Regions from separate parts of the Homo sapiens genome. Here region 1 is linked to region 2. The links are contacts of gene promoters, found by promoter capture Hi-C in human tissues and cell types (Jung and others, 2019). All regions are on one chromosome and are shown on one strand. The core of a region is centred on a gene start or on the middle of the fragment in contact, and the rest is flanking DNA. Distances in the headings are between cores, read along the strand shown.

Region 1 (3,921 bases), core at 481-2,980, 130 kb before region 2:
CTCACTGCAACCTCCACCTCCCGGGTTCAAGCGATTCTCCTGCCTCAGCTTCCTGAGTAGCTGGGATTACAGGCATGCGCTACCACGCCCTGCTATTTTTTTGTATTTTCAGTAGAAACGGGGTTTCTCCATGTTAGCCAGCTGGTCTTGAACTCCTGACCTCAGGTAATCCGCCCGCCTCAGCCTCCCAAAGTGCTGGGATTACAGGCGTGAGCCACTGCACCCGGCCAATAAAATTTTTTAAATAAACTGTGTTGTATGTCTACATTTTGACTGTGACCCGTCACGTGAGCTCAGTTGTGTAATATTCTACTATGGCATCATGTTGGCACTCAAAAAGTTTTGGATTTGGGAGCATTTTAGATTTTGGATTTTCAGATTAGGGATACTCAACTGTAGTAGGTTGTCACCTCTACTTCTGACCAACTGGCTATAAATTGGGGTTCTGATGACCCCCCTCCTCTGATTCCTTTAATTTACTAGAGCAGCTCACAGAACTCAGGGAAACACTTTATTTATGTTTACCCATTTATTATAAAGGATATTGCAAAGAATACAGATGAACAGCCAGATGGAAGAGATACACAGGGCAAGCCATGTGGGAAGGAGTGAGGAACTTCCACACTTCCTTCCTTGTGGGAGGGGTCATCTACTCTCCAAGAACATCCAGCACCTCCACGTGTCTCACTCTCCTGAAGCTCTCCAAACCCAGTCCTTTGAGTTTTTATGGAAGCTTCCTTATATAGCCATGATTGATTGCATCGTGGGCCATTGGTGATTAAGTCAACCTTTAGCCCCTCTCCCTTCTCCAGAGGTCGAATGGTAGGACTGAAAGTTCCAGCCCGCTTATCACTTGGTTGGTTCTCCTGGCAACCAGCCTCCTATCCTGTGGCTGAACAGGAGCCCCAGCCACCAGTTATTTCATTAGCGCACAAAAAGAACTTAAACACTTTGTTGGAGATTCCAAGAATTTTAGTATCTGTGTGCCAAGAATCAGGAGCAGAGACCAAATATGTTTCTTATTATATGTGTTCCTTACTGTATCACACTATCACAGCTACTATAACAAAAATACCATAGACTGGGTGTCTTAAACAATAAACATTTATTTCTCACAGTTCTGGAGGCTGGGAAACCCAAGATCAGGGTGCCAGCAGATACAGTGTCTAGTGAAGGTTTGCTTCCTGGTTTGTAGACAGCTGTCTCACTTGTATCCTCACATGGCCCAGAGAGAGATCATCTCTATGGTGTGAAGAGCACTAATCCCTTTCACAACGGCTCCACCCTCATGACCTAATTACCTCCCAAAGTTCCCCTATCTAAATACCATCACATTGAGGATTAGGCTTCAACATATAAATGTTGGAGGAACACAAACTATTAGTCCTTAGGATGTTTCCCAACTCTGATGTTGCAATATGCAAGGCAAAGATCTTATGATTACCCAACTCTGGTTCATAAACTCCTGAAGAATCTGTCCAACTACAGTGAATAAATATGGTTCCTCCAGATTGCTAGGTTGAATATTTTTGACTTGAACTCAGAAGCTCTTCTTAGATTTTTTTTAACCTCCTAGAAGCTGGTTTAATTTCTTTCAGTTCAGTGCCTTGCATGGAGCCATATAGATTTGGAGCTTTTGGAAGGTTGTTGGTGATGTTTGCTGATCTAATGTGTATTGATGACAGCAGTAGACAAAACGTAGAATTCAGAGCAGCACTGGCTAAGAACGAGGCAGGGCTAAAGAGTAAAGTTATACATATTAGCTGTTGCCTTAGGCTGTATTTCTTTTTTGAACTCAGAACTGGGACAGAAGAAGAATATCCCCCAGCTCTTCTTTTATAGAGAAGGAAACAGGGACTGAGAGTGGTTAGGTCCACTCGAGGGCATATGTGATGAAGCTGGGATAACTACTCAACTGCCCTGGAACATAGTGATTGGCTTCCTAGTGGTTTCCAGTGTACTTCACTGGAAAATGTTATGAAGGTTACTATAGGCTGCCCTTTCCATCCATTGGTATTGAACAAGATGCCAAATATTTTACAGATTTAAAAAATTACATCTTTTCTCATGATCCCCTCCTTGGGTTTCTCAGAGAAATATGGTTAGTCTGCTAAAAAGTGCTTGCCTTCCATTTCCCCATGATTTGTTAGCGGTGCAGCAAACAAGTGCCCCATGCATCTAATGCCGATCAAAGAAAATGACAGGATAAGATGGCTTTTTTGTAAGGCCTGGCCCAGAGCTGAACAGCTGAGACCTAAGATGCTTGTCTCCTTCAAGAGTATGAGCTGGGCCGGGTGCAGTGGCTCACGCCTGTAATGCCAGCACGTTGGGAGGCCGAGGCGGGTAGATCACAAGGTCAGGAGTTTGAGACCAGCCTGGTTAATATGGTGAAACCCCATCTCTATTAAAAATACAAAAATTAGCCTGGCGTGGTGGTGGGCTTCTGTAGTCCCAGCTACTTGGGAGGCTGAGGCAGGAGAATCGCTTGAACCCAGGAGGCAGAGGTTGCAGTGAGCCAGGATTGTGCCACTGGACCCCAGCCTGGGTGACAGAGCGAGACTCCATCTCAAAAACAAACAAACAAATAAATAAATACATAAAGAATATGAGCTGTTTAGTGGCACAGCTGGGGCCATAGTTCCTCTGAGCCTGTTTCCTCATCTGCAGAACTTGGATGCTGGTAACACCCCCAGCCAGTAGCCCACCCTAATGGGCTGTGGTAGACATCACGTGAGTGCAGTGTGAAAGTATTTTGTAAGATATATGTCTATGTTAAGGTGTTTATTGCTTTTTAACTTATGATATTCCCTTGGGCCTTCATCTTTTATTAGGATTTGGTATATACTAGATTTCTAGTATATTTCCACAAATGCCTCTTTCTCTCCTGCAATTAAATTGTCTTAGTAGCACAGGGAATGAATTAGTTCTGGCTGGAAGTGGGAAATTTGAGAATATTGATTTTCTCAAGTATCAAGGAAATTTAACTTCCTTTATAGGATTGCTTCTATAAATGAAATCAGAAACTCTTATATTTTTCAGAATGCATTTTAATGGTATGCCATCAGCTAAAAAGCAAAAATATATGAAAGTTTATATAGTTTTGACATGTTGTTTATGTTTAAAAGTCTTTGAAAACGTTGTCAAGATTTATGTGTTGAACTCCAGGTCCCCATGAAATCATGGGCTCCATAGCTGAACAAGTTCTTGAGGAGATCTATTTTATTGTGCTCTACTGAGCAGAATGTACACAGTAATAAGTCCAGCTCGATTGCTTGCTTTATACAGAAATCAGACATTCAGGCAAGAAAGCAAAGTGCTTTAATCATTAAGCACTTACAAAAAGGATTATAACTATCTCGGGGAGTCGAAGAATTTAGAACTATTCTCTATTCCCTCCCACGTGTGTTTGACTAATATAACACACCAGTTCCTAGCAGGATTTTTCTGTGTATTTTTCTGTTGCTGCTTTTATCAAGGTCTGAGTTTTTCACCCAGGTCATTGTGAGCTCTTGACAGGCTCCTGTGGCCACCACCACCTCCAGCTTGCAGATGTGCAAAGGGCTCCCTCTGTGTCTCATTCTCCTTTCCTCTGTGACCACTGCACCCTGAGCAGACTAGAATTACATCTCCTACAGCAGGGTTTCTCCTCAGTGATGCTGGTGATGACTTCAAAAACCACTCTCCTTTGTTTCATATTTTAGGGACACAGCGGGTCAGGAAAGATTCCGAACAATCACGACAGCGTACTACAGAGGAGCCATGGTGAGTGTGTTGTAGGGTTTTGTAACTCTTCAGGTAGAAGTAAAGCATGAATGTTTGTTTGCCAAGATTATAGGATTCAAGATGGAGTCTAGTATGTAGAAAAATAAATTTTCTGATGGGGAAACAAGACATTTAAAAGGTTTTTTGGGGGCCGGGCGC
Region 2 (3,697 bases), core at 902-3,401:
CAAGATCCATATCAGAGGTCCTGGGCCCTGCCTGCTTCCTGTGCTGGGTGCTAGAACTTTCCCTGAGTAACCATCTCCTGGGTAGCCCAAGACTGCCTGGCTCTCCACACCAGGTTTGGGCAGGGCAAGCTCTGCAGAATTCACTGAAATGCCCCCCAAAGCCACGGCAACTAAGAATTCCAAGGGTTTCTCCAGAAGACACTTGACTTCACATTATTATGCTCCCTCCTGGGCCCCTGACATTGTTCTTGAACATTCTCCAATGCTGGAAGTTTAAATGCACCAGGCAGAGAGCAGATCACACTTTGACCCCATTACTCAGCTTAACTCCTCTCCACCTCCAACTTTGGGTTCATGCTGACATTCTACACCTCAGTGATTTTTGCTTTGACCTGTCCTCTAAGGCAGTTAAAAACCCAAGGAAACTGCATGAGAATTTACAGAATAAAAGCTGTGCTCTACCCAGGGGTAGGCAGTCTCCTTCCTCAGAGTGAGGCGAAAGTGGAGTTTTGACTACAAACTTCCCCAGTCCCAACTTGGAGAATTGGGAGAGGAGATAAGGAGGAGGGAAAGGGAGAGGGAAGAGGAAGAGCAGGGAAAGTAGGGAAGAAAGGAAGGGGAGGGAGGGAAGAGAACAGGGAAGGGCAGGAAAAGAGAGAGAAGGGAGGCAGAGCTGCCCCAGAGTGAGAGGAGCAACCAGCTATAGGAAAGAGGGCCAACTAATGGCTGTTTCTCCCTTTGGTCTTGGAGCAACTTAGGACTAAAGAGATTTCCAGGGAAACTTTGGTCTCAGTGCAGCTTTCGTAAAAGGAAACATGTAAAGTTTGTGGTTTTAAAACTTGATTTTCACTTTTACATCGCTCCTTTCTCCCAACTTCTGTTACATCGCTTCTGTTTCTCCCTGACCAGATGAGGGAGATAATATCAAGCACATCATGCCAGCTAGTTGACTGGAATTTAATTAAGAGTTATCCACAGCCTGGCTCCCCTGCCCTTCCCCATGGGCACTGTGACCTCCAAGAGAGGAGGCTCAGAGCTTTTATGCTGCTGAGCAGGACACATTTCCCACCACCACTGCCTCGCCAGGAAGAATCTAGTTTCAGCCAGTAAAATCACTTTCGGTCCAAAATCACTTTCTTATTCCAAAAGATTAATGAACCAGCCTTGGCTGTACACGTGTTAGCTCACTGGCCCGGCGTGAGCCCACAGTTCAGGTCCCCTCTGCCACCTCCTCCTGTCACTCCACGGAGCCTCCATTCAGTCCCTCAGCCTCCAGCCTTTTGGGATTTAGTGTTCTAATTACAATCAGAAATATGCTGTGTGTGTGTGTGTGTGTGTGTGTGTGGTTTGTGTGCGTGCGCGCGTGCGTGTGTGTGTGTACGTGCACACACACGTACATTCAGCATAGTAGAGCCCTCCTGGAGAAAAACAATGATTAAGAATGGGATGCATCATCCCTTTGACTTGTAGGTAAGACTTAATGGTAAAGATCCTCTCCTCCAAAGAAAAGCGCCTACCACTGTCTGCGGGTTCTGCACAGGGGCACAGCAAACCTTTCTCTGTGCTTACCCCAATCAGAATGCCACAGTCATGTCTCTACTTTCTAAACGTGGATCAGGGGAACGCTGTTTTAAATCTTGGCTTTGCATCTCCTCCCTGGTTAGCAAGTTCCCAAGCCACATCTTCAGAGCTGGCGGTGCCCGGGAGTACACGCAAACATTTTAACACCAAATCTGCGCCAAGCGCCACTAGAAAGCAACGTGCTTCCCGACCCAACCTCAGCAAAGGAAAACGGAGCATCCTTTCTTGAGAATCTACTATTTGGTACTACACCTTCCCTGCTCCCCGCAGCAATGATTTTACTTTATCATTGAAGAGCCTTCAGCCCAGGGGCGGCTGAGCGCTCAGGAGTGTTAGGAAAGAAGCAGGCGGAAACTTTACCGTTCACTGGGGCCGGGCTGGAAGGCTGTTCCTTTAAGATCACCAGCAGGAGCACGGCCGCCGCGTGCAGGCTGCGCCGGGGCATCTTCGCGGGCTCCTGCGGGGCGGGCGCGGGCTGTGCCGGGGGCTCCCGGTGGCCGCTCGCTCTCCAGCTGCACACCGGGACCGCGTGCGCGCAGCCTGGGTGCCGTGGCGAGTACGTCCGCCCTTCGCTCTCCTGGCTTCCCCGGGCAGCTTTTATGGAGCAACTCAACGCCAAACACTTGATGTCATCGTGCGGGGAGGGGGTGGGGGAGGAGAACGCCCTGCCCACCGGAGGGCTGGCGCCCCAGATCCTAGGTGAGTTGTAGCCTTGACTTCAGCAGCACTCTGCGGGTCCCCGGCGCTCCTCTGGGCCAGGGCTGACCCAGGAACACAGTTCTCCGAGGAGCTGCTGGCAGGCGTGGGTGAGATCCGCCTGTCTCACATCCAGAAGGGTGCGTCTAGGGATTCCTTCAGTGGCATGCCCTTGGTCTGTCACTGGTCCTGTAACAGCCCAACGAGTTCACCTTGCCCGCTGCTTAGACAGAGCCCATTTATCAAGACAGGGGAGTTGCAATGGAGAAAGTAATTCACGCAGAGCTTGCCGTGCCGGAGACCGGAGGTTTTCGTTCCTTTGTTTGTTTGTTTGAGACGGAGTCTCGCTCTGTTGCCCAGGCCGGAGTGCAATAGCGTGATCTCGGCTCACTGCAACCTCCGCCTCCCGGGTTCAAGCGATTCTCCTGCCTCAGCCTCCCGAGTAGCTGGGATTACAGGCACATGCCACCATGCCCAGATAATTTTTGTATTTTTAGTAGAGGCGGGGTTTCGCCAGTTTAAGGCTGGCCTTAAACTCCCGACCTCAGATAATTCACCTGCCTTGGCTTCCCAAAGTGCTGGGATTACAGGCGCCCACCACCACACCCGGCTAATTTTTCTAATTTTAGTAGAGACGGGGTTTCACCATGTTGGCCAGGCTGGTCTGGAACTCCTGACCTCAAATGATCCACCTACCTTGGCCTCCTAAAGTACTGGGATTCCAGTACTCAAATCAGTCTCCCCAAGCATTCCGGGAGTTGTTTGTTTGTTTGTTTGTTCAGACGGAGTCTCCCTCTGTCGCCCAGGCTGAAATGCAGTGGCATGGTCTTGGCTCACTGCAACCTCTGCCTCACGGGTTCAAGCGATTCTCCTGCCTCAGCCTCCTGGGTAGCTGGGATTACAGGCACGCGCCGCCACACCCAGCTAATTTTTGTATTTTTAGTAGAGACGGGGTTTCACCATGTTGGCCAGGCTGGTCTTGATCTCTTGATCTCGTGATCCACCTAAAGTGCTGGGATTACAGGCGTTGAACCACTGCACCCTGCCTCTGGGAGTTTTTAAAGATAATTTGGCAGATAGGGGCTTGGGACTTGGGGAGTGCTGATTGGTCAGGTTGCAGATGGGATCACAGGGGGGTTGAAGTAACGTTTTCTTGCAGTCTTCTGTTCCTGGGTGGGATCGCAGAACTGGTTGAGCCAGATCACACACGGTCTGAGTGGTGTCAGCTGATCCATCCAGTGCAGGGTCTGCAAAATAGGATGTTAGATTTTACAATAGCGATGTTATCCCCAGCAGCAACTTGGGAAGGTTCAGACTCTTGCAGCCTGACGCCGCAGGACCCCTAAACCATAATTTCTAATGTTGTAACTAATAGATTAATCGTACAAAGGCAGACTGGCACCCAGGCAAGAAGGGGGTC

Evidence for each region. Contacts are between HindIII fragments. The study calls those that stand out against the background at their distance.
Region 1: a contact is called between a fragment that was not itself captured here and the fragment with the promoter of CA12 in region 2, in 1 of the 25 tissues and cell types used here (spleen).

The regions. Positions count from the first base shown.
Region 1 is chr15:63,245,944-63,249,864 of GRCh38, forward strand. It overlaps RAB8B (RAB8B, member RAS oncogene family), which reads left to right. Exons shown (of 8, transcript NM_016530.3): 3 at 3,702-3,762. Among named protein-coding and RNA genes, the nearest start is that of APH1B, 30 kb to the right of the region's middle. The HindIII fragment of the contact is 7,123 bases long and covers 1-3,921 here.
Region 2 is chr15:63,379,695-63,383,391 of GRCh38, forward strand. It overlaps CA12 (carbonic anhydrase 12), which reads right to left and starts at 2,152. Exons shown (of 11, transcript NM_001218.5): 1 at 1,942-2,152. The coding sequence starts at 2,026. RefSeq lists enhancers at 1,836-2,356, 2,357-2,876. The HindIII fragment of the contact is 12,151 bases long and covers 1-3,697 here.